Regions from separate parts of the Homo sapiens genome. Here region 2 is linked to region 1. The links are contacts of gene promoters, found by promoter capture Hi-C in human tissues and cell types (Jung and others, 2019). All regions are on one chromosome and are shown on one strand. Each heading gives the region's core, a stretch centred on a gene start or on the middle of the fragment in contact. The rest is flanking DNA. Distances are from core to core; before and after follow the strand shown. Region 1 holds the start of CXADR (CXADR cell adhesion molecule). Region 2 has its middle 15 kb from the start of TRG-GCC1-5.

Region 1 (7,325 bases), core at 3,120-5,619:
ACATATAATAGAAAGTTTCTTGGCCTGGCGCAGTGACTCACGCCTGTAATCCTAGCACTTTGGGAGGCTGAGGCAGGCAAATCACCTGAGGTCAGGGGTTTGAGACCAGTCTAGCCAACATGACGAAACCCCCATCTCTGCTAGAAATACAAAAATAGCCGGGTGTGGTGGTGCATGCCTGTAATCCCAGCTACACGTGAGGCTGAGGCAGAATTGCTTGAACCCGGGAGGCGAAGTTGCAGTGAGCCGAGATCATGCCACTGCACTCCAGCCTGGGTGACAGATGGAGATCCGTCCCAAAAAAAAAAAAAAAAAAAAGAGAGTTTCTTAATTCACATGTCTTCATATTCCAAGCTGAGAAGAGATGAAAATCCTTTAATTCTTAAGTATAAATTAACCTTTGAATATGATTGTAGGATTTTAATAATCTATGGGTGTGTTCATAGATCTATTAGTGCTGAGACATTTTTGTAAGGATGGATGCTTTATTAACCACAGTTATTTGTGTATCTGTAATTATAGCCTTGATGGAGCAAGGATCATCACCTTTAAGCTGGTTTAGAGGCTATATAATGTGGAGTGCTTGGTGCATTACTAAGACAGGGCAATTCACTTAATGGCTGTGCACTATTTCTTAGCTTGGTTTGAAGACAAAAAAGAATAATTTATATGTTCCAGAATAAATGAGATTATCTTATTATAGCTTCCAGAAGACATAATTTCCAAGCTGACAACAGCCACAAATGCATTTTAAGGTGTCTTTAATATATTTCACATAACTGCATAATTTTAGCTACTGTTTATGAAATAATTTAGTCACAAACCAAAGTCTAAAAATGACTTCATGTAACTTTTTAAAGAACAATACTTCCCCAAATAAGATCGACTGCTTCTTTCAAGATTATTTAAATCTTAGAATGGTACATTTTAAAAAAATCTGTGTTCAGTAATCTAAAGCAGCAGAAAAAAATTGATGTAAAACTTACGTTTTAAAAAACGCATTCTGGGCTGGGCACAGTGGCTCACGGCTGTAATCCCAGCACTTTGGGAGGCCAAGGTGGGCGATCACCTGAGGTCAGGAGATCTAGACCATCCTGGCTAACATGATGAAACCCTGTCTCTACTAAAAATACAAAAATTAGCCGGGTGTGGTGGAGTGCACCTGTAGTCCCTGCTACTCAGGAGGCTGAGGCAGGAGAATCGCTTGAATCCAGGAGGCCAAGGTTGCAGTGGGCGAGATCACGCCACTGCACTCCAGCCTGGGCGACAGAGCGAGATCCTGTCCCCCTCTCCCAAAAAAGCACATTCTGAAAAGATATATTTAAGGTGCAATGATTTGTTGTTGCACAGATACTTAAATTTTATTAACATATTGCCATAGAAAATAAGCATTCAATTCAACTTGAGAAATACTTGAGAACCTAGTATGTGCTTTCAGAAGTGACGAAGACAAAAAAAAAATGTGCTTTTTCAGCCTTCTAGAAGTATTTAGAACAAGAAAAGTGATTAATAGGTATGCAAATGCCTAACACAGAAGGAGGCAAAAGCTAAGAATTAGAAGAAAAAGTACCAGGAAAGGGATTAAGATAAAAATCCTTTTGGGTAGTTGTTGTTCCTCTTCCTCCTCCTCCTCCTTCCTCCTCCCTTCGTCCTCCCGGTCCTCCTCCCTCCTCCTCCTAAATCCTTTCGGGTAATTCCTCCCCCCCCCCTCCTCCTCCTAAATCCTTTTGGGTAATTCTTCCTCCTCCTCCTCCTCCTTTTCTTCTTCTTTCTGCTTCCTTCTCCTTCTTGGATCAAGGCTCTCTGCAACCTCTGCCTCCTGGGCTCACTTTATTAGCTCCACTTACTGAGATCCTGCTTACCGGGTTCCTGCACATAGTAAGTGGAAGATAACAAAACTAATATTGGATAATATTTGTCCTCCTACCTCAGCCTCCGGAGTAGCTGGGACTACAGGCACTGCGCGCCATCACATCCGGCTCATTTTTTATTTTTAGTAGATATGGGGGGTCTTGCCATGTTGCCCAGGCTGGTCTCGAACGCCTGGGCTCAGGCGATCGTCCACCTCTGCCTCCCAACATGCTGGGAGTTCGAGACCAGCCTGGCCCATATGGTGAAACCCCGTCTCTACTAAAAATACAAAAATTAGCCGGGCGTGGTGGCGCGCGCCTGTAGTCCCAGGTACTCGGGAAGCTGAAGCAGAAGAATCGCTTGAACCTTGGAGGCGGAGGTTGCAGTGAGCCGAGATGGGGTCACTGAACTCCAGCCTGGGCGACAGAGCGAGTATAGAAAAGTTCTCGTAGAACACTGTTAAACAGATGAACAACTTCAATACTTGCTCTTCTCTGCTTGATTTCATTTAGTGTGGTGAGTAAAAATTTAAATTCCAAATATTATTTACACGCAATTATATCCAGTAGAATTCCTGTTTGCTCAAATGGGAAGTCCCTAGCCGTTACTCATGTTGTCTTACGTCTGTATTGAACTCTTATTAGTTTGTAAAAGCTTTGGCAGAACTTTACAATCAGATGGTATGATTTTGCAAAGCCACTTCCTCTTACTACCACTGGTCATCTGTCATTTATTGGGCTGCCGTAAAGCAGGATTCCCCTTAAATCAAATTAAATTGGAATCACTTGAGTAAGGCTCAGGTACTAGTATATATATACATATATAGATAGATAGATAGATAGATATATTTTTTTTTTTTTTGAGACGGAGTCTCGCTGTGTCGCCCAGGCTGGAGTGCAGTGGCGCAATCTCGGCTCACTGCAAGCTCCCCCTCCCGGGGTTCACGCCATTCTCCTGCCTCAGCCTCCCGAGTCGCTGGGACTACAGGCGCCTGCAACCACGCCTGGCTAATTTTTTGTATTTTTAGTAGAGACAGGGTTTCACCGTGTTAGCCAGGATGGTCTCGATCTCCTGACCTCATGATCCGCCCGCCTGGGCCCCCAAAGTGCTGGGATTACAGGCGTGAGTCACCGCGCCCAGCCAGGCACTAGTATTTTTAAAACATTCTCCAAGTAATTTTCATGTGCAGCCAGAATTGCAACTCACCAGGCTAAACTGCAGTTGCGCAATTCTGGTCTTCTTGATACCTGATTTCTTTGCCCCTTCTCTTTTCTGGTTCAATGCATAATAAGAATTTTCCAATATTAGTTTTATTAGCTTCCACTTACTGAATTCTGCTTACGGGGGTTCCTGCTTAGTCTAGATAGTAAGCAGGAACTTACAAACTATGTAAGCTTATAGACTACATAAGCAGGAACCCTGTAAGCAAGAACTCAGTAAGTGGAAGCTAATTAAAACTACGTGCCAGGCAGGGTGCCAAGCATTTTTTGTGCATTATCTCATTTAACTTTCATAGCAACCCCGAAGTAGGTGCCATTTCTATGAAACCTGCCCAGTTACTGCCCCACTCCGCGGAATAAGCTCTTACCCACCGCTCCTCTTCTTCAATTCATTTCTGTTATGGAACTGTCGCGGCACTACAAAGTCTCTATGTAGTTATAAATAAACGTTATCTGGAAGAGCAGCCGACAACAACTTTCAAGATCTCCAATTCCCCGACCCCACACTCCAACTGACGCCTTCAACCACAACTACTGAGCCCCACTTTCAAAGCTCACTCACTAATATTGGATAATAGTTGTCTGCCTACCTCAGCCTCCGGAGTAGCTGGGACTATAGCGTCTTACTAGCCAGCTTCAGGGCTAGAATAGCCTTTCTGTGCAAGTGGAAAAAACCTCAGGTATTTCCCAAATCGGTAGCTGCAGAGGGGCTCTATCCCTACCAGAGATGGAGAAAAGCCCTCTCGCGCTTTTTATGTCAGCCAGAGCGGCTCGTTAAGAGAGCGAAGGCCAGGGGCTGCACAGGTCGCATCCCGTGAGCATGAGGTCAGAGAACCTGCCCCTGGGGCAAACCGCGAGGGGTGGGACGGGTGGGTGCAGGCGGGGCGGAGGGTAGGAGCCGCCCTAGTGGCGGCCCCTGGGAGTGTCCCGTGCCTCGCCTTAAAGGAGGGCGCCAACGCAATTTCAGTATGTGGGAGACGGGCTGCCCCACCCCCGCGCGCAAAACCCTGGTTTAGCTTAAGGGATGGAGGCGGGGACCCCTGCGCAGGCTTGCGGCGTGGGAGGCGGCCGCCCGCGACCTACGACGCCGCGCGCCGGGAGGCTGAGAGTTCGGCGCCGGGAGGGTCCCGGGGACAGAAGAGCGCCTCGCCCGGTTGCCAAGGCAACCCCACGCGGCTGGAGAAGCCGGCGCTCGCAGCCCGGCCCGGGCCGCTGCCGGAAGTGACGCGAGTTCACCTGCCGAGCGGGGGCTGGGAGGAGGGGCGGAGGGTGCAGAGGTGCCGCCGCCGCCGCGAGCCAGTCGGGAGCGCGCGAGGCGCGGGGAGCCTGGGACCAGGAGCGAGAGCCGCCTACCTGCAGCCGCCGCCCACGGCACGGCAGCCACCATGGCGCTCCTGCTGTGCTTCGTGCTCCTGTGCGGAGTAGTGGGTGAGTAGGGGCCATGGGGTCCTCAGCACCCGCCCAGCCCGGGGGCGCTCGCTGCCCGCGGCCACCCAGGAACAATGGGGCGTGGGGGAGGGGGCGGGCGCGATTTGGGGGCGCTGCTGCAGGGGCGGCGGGGCGGGCAGAATTGCACAGGGGCGCTTTTGCTGGGCCGGGCGCTCCTGGAGCCGTCCCGTAGGGAGCCGCGCAGGGCGCGCGGAGTGCCCGGGGACGGAGCCCTCGGCGGGGGGTGGAGGCGGAGGGGCTCGGGCGCGGCGTGTCGGGTGCGCCTCGCAGCTCTCCCATAGCATTCTCTGCCCCGGTGCGGGCTTGCCTTTCTTTGCTCTCGCCGTCTCCCTTGTCAGCCTTCGTGTCGGTTCTCTCCAGCGTTACCCGATTTCAAAAACCTTGGGCGGCGAGTTTTCAGGTGTCGAGTCGCCCAGGCGGGGAGGCTGAATTGCAAACGCCATTATTCAATGGACATGGAGCTGCCCGGTGCCTCGGATCGGCCAGGCTACCTCTAGGAAAGAGGCGCTGAGCGAACGCCAGCCTGGACGGTGTTAGTCTCCTGGAAGCAGCTCGCCCAGGCAGGAGCTGCTAACCAGACGCGCATTGTGAAGGAGACCGTGGAAAATCAAAAGTGGGTTCCTGCAAAAATGTAGCATTGGTTTCTGCAGTCCTTGGGCGAAGTGCAAAGGAGAATTCAGTGACCTCGTTTTTGAGTTTGTAATGAGTCGTTCATTTTGGAGATAAGACGGGCTGAGTTGTACAGGGTAATTGCTAGAGGATTTGCCAAGTGCGTTTGTCGACTGCTCCTTTCTCTGGGAGGGGAAAAAAGGCATGTGAAAAATGCGTGGACCATTAGGAGGCGTAATCATTTTGACACTTTAAAAAACGGATTTTCCATGTCGGTGTTTTAACCAACTGATCTTGTTTGTCAAACTAAGCACTTGCTGCGTTTTATAACCAAATAATTCATTTTTAAAAATCCGTAGGTGGGATCCTAGGAGGCGCACTTAGTATAGCCTCTGGAAGGGTAATTTTTTGTTGTTAGGTGCTCTGAAGCAGGATCTAGTGGCCCTTTCTGTTGGGATGGCTCTCTGCTTCCTGTTGAAATGTTAATTCCATTGTTGGATGCCACAGCTGTGAGCATTACTCATGGGATCAACATTCTATTAGCAAGTCTAATCTTCGATCTGAGCCTATAGCACTACCTCCACCTTTTTGATATATATCATTTAGACTTGGCGGGCTGAAATGTCCAAAGTAAGCCTTCCGGAGAAGATGAAGGGTCATAGAACCAGTTTACAGGTACATTCCCACCTTTCTTTCTTTTTTTTCTTTTTTTTGTCTAGGCCGAACCTGAAGATGAAGTTGAGAACACAGTGTGTTCTCTGGGAAAAAAAAAAAAAATAGTTTTAGACCACATCTAAAGCAGAAAAGTGGAAGAACATAAATTATGTGGAGGAACTTTTTTTTTTTTTTAAATGGAGTTTCGCTCTTGTTGCACAGGCTGGAGTGCAATGGCGTGATCTTGGCTCACCACAACCTCCGCCCCCCGCGTTTAAGCGATTCTCCTGCCTCAGCCTCCTGAGTAGCTGGGATTACAGGCACCCCCCACCATGCCCGGCTAACTTTTTTATTTTTAGTAGAAACCATGTTGGTCAGGCTGGTCTCAAACTCCCGACCTCAGGTGATCCGCCTCCCTCAGCCTCCCAGAGTCCTGGGATTACAAGCGTGAGCCACCATGCCTGGCAGGAACTAGTTGTTGTTGTTTTAACGGGAATATTTAGATAATTGGATTTAATTTTTTTTTTTTGGAATGCCTCACTTTGATAGGCACAATTCTAAGAAATAATATTTTGATGCAGAGAGTCATTGTGCTCATAAGGTATACACGGGTACAGTGAACATCTACTCGAAGGGCCAGTGTCTCAGCTAAACAAGGCAACTATCTTTATTCCAGTTTTTCAGTTTAAGAACAGCTGAGGCCAGGCACGGTGCTTGTAATCCCAGCAATTTGGGAGGTTGAGACGGGAGGGTCATTTGAGTGTAGGAGTTTGAGACCAGCCTGGGCAACATGGCGAGACCGCATTTCTACAAAAAATACAACAAAATAAAACCCAAAAAGAACTAGCTAGGTGCAGTGATGCTTGTCATAGTCCCAGCTACGCGGGAGGCTGAGATGGGAGGTTTGCCGGAGCCTGGGAGGTCTAAGCTCATGAGGTCTAAGATCATGACGCTGCTCTCGAGCCTGGGCGACAGAGTGAGACTCTGTCTCAAAAAAAAAAAGAAGACATACTAATTGATGAATGGCTTTATTTCTTCAGATATTTCTGACCATTTAGAAATGCATTGGTATGGGCCGGGCGCGGTGGCTCACGCCTGTAATCCCAGCACTTTGGGAGGCCGAGGCGGGCAGATCATGAGGTTAGGAGATCGAGACCATCCTGGCTAACACGGTGAAACCCCGTCCCTACTAAAAATACAAAAAAATTAGCCGAGCCTGGTGGCAGGCGCCTGTAGTACCAGCTGAGGCTGAGGCAGGAGAATGGCGTGAACCCGGGAGGCGTAGCTTGCAGTGAGCCCACATCGCGCCACTGCATTCCAGCCTGGGCGACAGAGCTAGACTCCGTCTCTGAAACAAATAAACAAAAAAAAAGGCATTGTTATTAACTCAAGTTCACTGTTAACATGATTGACTCCTACTTTAGCAAAACAAGGGAAAGACTCATTCAGATTATACCGTCAGTGATAGATATTCCTCCAGCTCTGAAACAGTTTTGTGGTATACTCTGGCTGCAGATGGGACTCCTTTCGATGCATTTTTAT
Region 2 (7,325 bases), core at 2,613-5,112, 43 kb before region 1:
ATATACATACACACATATACTTTGGTATGTGCTCTAATTTTTTCTTCTTTTTGTTGTTGAGGCAGGGCCTCACTCTGTTATCCAGGCTGGAGTGCGGTGACTCACTAAAGCTGAGGCTTTAGTGGTAGGACTAAACCAGGAAGTTGAGACTTCCTGGGCTCAGGCAGTCCTACCATGTCAGCATCCCAAGTAGCTGGGACCACAGGCACAGGCTACCATGCCTGGCTAATTTTTAAAATGTTTGTAGAGACAGGGTCTCACTGTGTTGCCCAGGCTAGACTCAAACTCCTAGGCTCAAGCAATCTTCCTGTCTTGGCCTCTTGAAGTGCTGACATCATACCGGTGGGAGCCGCCGCACCTCTAATTTTCTTTCTTTTTTTTTTTAACCAATAGATGTATGCAATTAAAATTTAAGACCATACTGTAAACAATGGGAGAGTCATTGAGGTCTTATTTGCAGAGGAGGATATACTCAGCATATAAATTATAATAATGGATAATGGTTCTCAACTTTCTTCCTTTCTTTTTTTTTTTGTTTTTTGTTTGTTTGTTTGTTTTGAGATGGAGTCTTGCTCTCTGTCACCCAGGCTGGAGTGCAGTGGCACAATCTCGGCTCACTGCAACCTCTGCCTCCCAAGTTCAAGCGATTCTCCTGCCTCAGCCTCCCGAGTAGCTGGGATTACAGGCGCCCACCACTACATCCGGCTAATTTTTGTATTTTTAGTAGAGACGGGGTTTTACCATCTTGGCCAGGCTGGCCTCGAACTCCTGATCTTATGATCCACCTGTCTCGGCCTCCCAAAGTGCTGGGATTACAGGCATGAGCCACTGCACCCGGATGGTTCTCAACTTTCAACCCAGGAGAATTCCCTGGGAATTATTAGAAATTACTGATGACCAGACCACACCCCAAATTAATTACATCAACTCTCTGGGGTAGGAACGAACATCAATATTTTTCTTTTCTCTTGGTGATTCTAACGTGCCAGGGTTAAGAACCACTGAATTAGAGTTATAATCAAGTTTGATATGAATTGGCCAATGAAATAGTATAATTTAATATTAAATGTTAATTAATTAAAACTATTAAATGTTCTCAAAAGTTACAGAAGAATAAAAACTAAATATTTAAGAAGTTCTTTTACCTTAAGTATTGAAAATAAATGGTTTTTCTCTTCACGGGTTGTTTTTATTTCCTTATAAAGCCTAGCTGTCATGTGATCCTCCTGACTCTGCGGAAGTAAGTCAGAGAAATAAAGACTAACTCACTCATTAAGAGACCTTTTACATAAAACACTTTCTTATCTGTTAGAATTTGAGCTTTCTCAGACTCTCAGCTTGTTTTCCCAAGTTTACACAATAATAAAATACACACAGTGACCTTCTTACTCTTCTTTTGCCAGCGGATTATTTAATACTGATTAGCTTTGAAATGCAAATAGCCCTATCAAATAGCAAGCTACTTGCCTTCAACCGGACTAAGGCTGCATTAGAGTGAAAGTCAAAACTGTTTTATGCAAAGAAAAAAAATAGTCTGTCAAAGGCCCCTAGGTCTTCAATTTTTTCAGGATTATATTCAGGATATGAAATTCTTTGTACTGACTAACGGATTACCTTTTCTTCTAAATTCTTTTGTTTCCAAACTCCCAATCCTATGTTGACTTACAATTAACCCTTTGCTGACCATTAGTTGAACTTTCAAACCAAACATAACGCTTTCAGCATTTGTATTTATATCACAACATGACAAATACTAGTAAGAGAGGGAATTTTTACAGAAAAAGCTTATCTAGCCTCTTACATGAGGACCACTATTTGTTTTTCTTAAACAGAGAGTAACAACTTCAGGGCTGCAAAATACCTTTGAGATTACCTAATTCACCCTCTTCATTTTACAGATATGCACCCAAGGTCTGGTACGCTTTTACTAGGTCAGTGTTTGGGCTGAAGAAAACAGGGTTGGGTTGCTGAATAGTAAATTCCTGGTGGAATGGAAACTGAGCTGACATTGGCAGATGGGTATTAAACCCGCTGGAGTCCTCCGCCTGAAATTCAAGGCTTGAAAGAGTCAGAGGCTGACAAGATACCAAGGCTGAGACTGATTTACTCTTTCTTTTTCTTTTTCTTTACTTTCTTTTTTTTTTTTTTTTTTGAGACAGGGTCTCACTATGCCCCCCCAGGCAATGATCATAGCTCACTGCAGCCTCAAACTCCTAGGCTCAAGCTATCCTCCCACCTCAGCCGCCCCAGTAGCTGGGGCTACAGGTGCACACCACCATGCCAATTTTTTTGTTTTGTTTTGTATTAGACAGGGTTTCTTTCTGTCACCCAGGCTGGAGTGTAGTGGCTCCATCACAGTTCGCTGCAGCCTTGCCCTCCCGGGCTCAAGTGATCCTCCCACCTCAGCCTCCCAAGTAGCTGAGACTACAGATGTATGCCACCATGCCCAGCTAATTTTTGTATTTTTTGTAGAGATTGTGTTTCACCATGTTGCCCAGGATGGTCTCAAACTCCTGGGCTCAAATGATCCTCCCACCTTGGCCTGCCAAAGTGTGGAGATTACAGATGTGAGCCACCATGGCTGGCCTGCCTGGCTAATTTTTAAATTTTCTGTAGAAACAGGGTCTTGCTATGTTGCCCAGGCCAGTAATGAACTCTTGGCCTCAGGCCATGGGGATTACAGGTGTGAGCCCCTGCACTTGTCCAGGACTGATTTCTCAAAAGCAGCAGAAGTTGGTGGGGTTGCAGCCAGGTGGCCCAGCCCCTGACAGCACCTACCAAGGGACTGGGGACTGCCCAGCACTGGCTGGTCCCAGGTGATCCGGTCAAACTGGGCATTCCTCTGTAATATCCTTCTGAAGAAGCTGAATTAATATCTCAGTGGGATAGTTTAGAAATGACACAGACCTGGGGCAGAAATACAAAGCTTGCTACCAGCTATGGAAGCATCATCCTGTTTGCTTTGTCTTTTTTTTTTTTTTTTTTTTTTGAGACGGAGCTGGCTCTGCTCTCAGGCTGGAGTGCAGTGGCGCGATCTCGGCTCACTGCAAGCTCCGCCTCCCGGGTTCACGCCATTCTCCTGCCTCAGCCTCCCGAGTAGCTGGGACTACAGGTGCCCACCACCACGCCCGGCTAATTTTTTGTATTTTTAGTAGAGACGGGGTTTCATCGTGTTAGCTAGGATGGTCTCGATCTCCTGACCTCGTGATCTGACCGCCTCGCCTCCCAAAGTGCTGGGATTACAGGCGTGCAGCCGCGCCACGCTGCTTTGTCTTTAAAATTATCTGCCATTAGAAAATCAAACAGTTGCCAGGGGCTGGGAGAAGGGAGGCACGAGGAGTTATTGTTTAATGGGTGTGGAATTTCAGTTTGAGAGGATAAAATAAGTTCTGAGGATAGATGGTGGTGATGGTTGCATAACAATGTAAATATACTTAATGCCACTTGCCACTGAACTGTAGATTTTAAAATGGTTAAAATGGTATATGGTAGATTTTATGTGTGTGTGTGTGTGTGTGTGTGTTTCTTTTTAGAGGTAGAGTTGCATTCTGTCACCCAGGCTAGAGTACAGTGGTTCAATCATAGCTCACTGCAGCCTCAACTTCCTGGGCTCAAGTGATCCTCCTATCGCAGCCTCCCAAGTAGCTGGGACTAAGGAGTGTACCATCACACCTGGCTGGGTTTCTTTGTTTTAGTGTTTGTTTGTAGAAATAGGGTCTCACTATGCTGCCCTACCTAAATTTTGTTATGTATATATTACCACAACAAAAATATATCTGCTATTAGTTCTTTTCTTTTTCTTTCTTTCTTTTTCTTTTTCTTCTTTCTTTTTTTTTTCTTTTTTTAGATAGGGTCTTGCTCTGTTGTCCAGGCTGGGGTACAGTGGCATGATCATAGCTCACTGCAGCCTCTAACTCCTGGGCTCAAGCGACCCTCCTGCCTCAGCCTCCTGAGTAGCTGAGAATACAGGCACGTGCCACCACGTCCAGGTACTTTTTTTGATTTTTAGTAGAGATGGCATTTCACTTTGTTGCCCAGGCTGACCTCAAACTCCTGAGCTCAAGTGATCCTACTGCCTTGGCCTCCCAAAATGCTGGGATTACAGGCGTAAGCCACCACGCTCGACCTGCTGTTAGTTCTTAAATCACCATCTCTGTGTTGTTTTTTTTTTTTTTTTTTTTGTCTTTTTTTTCTTTGAGTTCAAGAGTTTTGCTCTTGTTGCCCAGGCTGGAGTGCAATGGCATGATCTCAGCTTACTACAACCTCCGCCTCTCGGGTCCAAGTCACTCTCCTGCCTCAGCCCCCCGAGTAGCTGGGATTACAGGCATGAGCCACCACACCTGGCTAATTTTGTATTTTTAGTAGAGGCGGGGTTTCTCCATGTTGGTCGGGTCTCAAACTCCGACCTCAGGTGATCCGCTCACCTCGGCCTCCCAAAGTGCTGGGATTGCAGGCATCAGCCACCTCGCCCGGCCCATCTCGTCTTTTAAATAAGTATCTCAGGCTCAGCACGGTGGCTCACAGCTGTAATCCCAGCACCTTTGGAGGCCGAGGCGGGCGGATCACCTGAGGTTAGGAGTTCGAGACCAGCCTGGTCAACATGGTGAAACCCTGTTTCTACTAAAAATACAAAAATTAGCCAGGCTTGGTGGCGGGTGCCTATAATTCCAGCTACTCAGGAGGCTGAGGCAGGAAAATCGCTTGAATCCGGGAGGCAGCGGTTGCAGTGAGCTGAGATCGTGCCACTGCACTCCATCCTGGGCGACAGAGCAAGGAACCATCAAAAAAAAAAAAAAACCCTCATATTCTCATGTAGTTTTTTAAATACCAAAATATTCAAGAAGTCTAGGTTTTGAGAAAATCATTGCCAGACTGAAAATTACCTGATAGTAAAATCTCTGAGTAAATTTAGATTTTAAAAATTTTGTCAGAAGCAATTGGTACTCAAAGAACACAAAGATTTGTAAATTTCAGGGAAGCTAAAGTTTTCTAACAGCCTCAAAAATTTTATTTCCCAACACTACTTTCCCCAAAGAGAAAAGTTTTGTTGTTGTTGTTGTTGTTGTTGTTTTTGAGACAGAGTCTCGTTCTGTCACCCAGGCTGGAGTGCAGTGGCACAATATTGGCTCACTGCAACCTCTGCCCCACCCCAGGTTCAAGCGATTCTCCTGCCTCAGCCTCCTGAGTAGTTGGGATTACAGGCATGTGCCACCACACCTGTCTAATTTTTGTACTTTCAGTAGAGACGGGGTTTCTCCATGTTGGCCAGGCTGGTCTCGAGCTCCTGACCTCAAGTGATCCGCCCACCTTGGCCTCCCAAAGTGCTGGGACTACAGGTGTGAGCCACCACGCCCAGCCAAGAAAAGATCTTAATACATAAGTAAAATATAGAACAGTCTCCTTGTAAGTGTTTCCAACACATAAAAGAAAGGGGAGGATCTTTTTGGAATTGTTGCGGTTTGTCATTTAATCGTCACTTTAAAGTGAAGAAGATTGAGTATTAGAGAAGTTAGTTTGTCCAAGGTTTGGAAGAACAGGGTTTTGGATTAGAACCTAAACCAATCAAACTCCAAATCCTCACTGTTAACAATTTTCTGTTGGCATGCAAATGTATTTCTTCCATCAGGCTATGTAATAATTATAAATAATGGGGCTGGTATAGACGTAAGGTACTGACACTGAATAATTCCCCAAAGAACCTTGAAGTAAACTGCTTTTACATAGTGGGAAAGAGTCCTCATAAAGCACTCAGCCCTGGAACATTCTTTCAAAAGCAAGACATAAAAAAAAATCAAAAGTAAAAATTCTCTATCACCGAAAAGGAAAAGACATTTTGTTGAGTGCAAAAGAAGAATCCTGCCAAGCAGAGAGAGTGAACTGTAGCAAATAGACACAGATATATCTGGATAATTAGGCATGATATAGTGAGTGTTTCACTGAAACTTGAACAGCTGTAGACAGAAACTGAGAATTCTATAAAGTTTCTATATTTACTCCCATATCAGGAAATTACCAACCTGGCTTGAAGCTATATGGCTCAGCCTGGGATAAAAACTGGTGTGAGAGTTCCAAAGGATCAGCAGGTGAATCAGAGCCAGGACAATAAAGAGAACAAGTACAGAGCTGTTTATCTTATTTCAGCTACAAGTTTTTCCAATACCTGACTGAGAAAGTGTTGAGAGTCAACACCCTTGTAGTCACGTATGGTCTATGTGTCTTGGTTTTCACATGCATCAGGAGCTGTACATGTGTACATATGCACACTTAGGAAAGCCAGGCCTTGGGCAAAACTATGGACAAACACAGCCACAAATTTATATAACCCCAGATCTGTTCCTTCTATCCTCTGGGAACTCCGGTTTTCCCATAGCCTTCCAGAATTGTTCTAGGAGGGACTAGAGCCTATTTTTCATGAGCAACTGGGTCTAGTTCTTGTTATTAGATATGACTCAGATCACTTCCAATCTGCAAAGCAGAAGCTGTGATGCCAGTGTTTGCTGAAAATGCTGCCACTGCTATTGAACATGCAGAGGTGTGCCGTTTTGGGGCCAATGTCTAATGTAGAAGAAAACATGTCCTTTGTCCGATCTATGAAGTCAGACGGCCAGGGTTCAAATTCCAGCTTTGCCATTCACTAGGTATATTAGCAGTGACAAAGGTTTGTGTATTTAGCAAATGGGATTTTCATAGCCCTACCTCATAGGATGGTGGTAATGGCAGATGATATAATGCATATAAAATGCCTAGTTAACAGTGATTGAATGCTTATTATAAGCTAAGCAAAGTACTAATACTGCTATTATCTGTAAGAAGCAAGCAGAAGATGCCACTCTCAGCAGTGTTCCATGCAGCAAATTGCTCTGCCAGTTTTTACTCAGTCTTTAATTGCAGGCCCTCGCTTTAGGATCTAGACTGCTCCTGAGTAACATGAATGGCAGAACCTGTGCTATGCTAAAAAACATCTTCTGGCTGGGCACGGTGGCTGACACCTGTAATCAGAGCACTTTGGGAGGCCAAGGCGGGCAGATCACGAGGTCAGGAGTTCGAGACCAGCCTGACCAACATGGTGAAACGTCATCTCTACTAAAAATACAAAAATTAGCCGGGCGTGGGGGCGCACGCCTGTAATCCCAGCTACTCAGGAGGTTGAGGCAGGAGAATCGCTTGAACCTGGGAGGCGGAGGTTGCAGTGAGCTGAGATCGCGCCACCGCACTCCAGCGTGGGTGACAGAGCGAGACTCCATCTCAAAAAAAAAAAAACAAAAAAAAAACCCATCTTCTGCACAGGTCCATATGTGGCTTACTCCTGGGGCAAACCGAGTGGG

Evidence for each region. The method cuts DNA at HindIII sites, captures the fragments that hold promoters and counts their contacts. A contact is called where the count stands out against the background at its distance.
Region 2: a contact is called between a fragment that was not itself captured here and the fragment with the promoter of CXADR in region 1, in 2 of the 25 tissues and cell types used here (small bowel and stomach).

The regions. Positions count from the first base shown.
Region 1 is chr21:17,508,674-17,515,998 of GRCh38, forward strand. CXADR (CXADR cell adhesion molecule) reads left to right here and starts at 4,370. Exons shown (of 7, transcript NM_001338.5): 1 at 4,370-4,499. The coding sequence starts at 4,457. RefSeq lists silencers at 3,821-3,940, 4,001-4,540. The HindIII fragment of the contact is 6,448 bases long and covers 2,876-7,325 here.
Region 2 is chr21:17,466,241-17,473,565 of GRCh38, forward strand. No RefSeq gene overlaps it. Among named protein-coding and RNA genes, the nearest start is that of TRG-GCC1-5, 15 kb to the left of the region's middle. RefSeq lists an enhancer at 6,431-6,725. The HindIII fragment of the contact is 3,015 bases long and covers 2,356-5,370 here.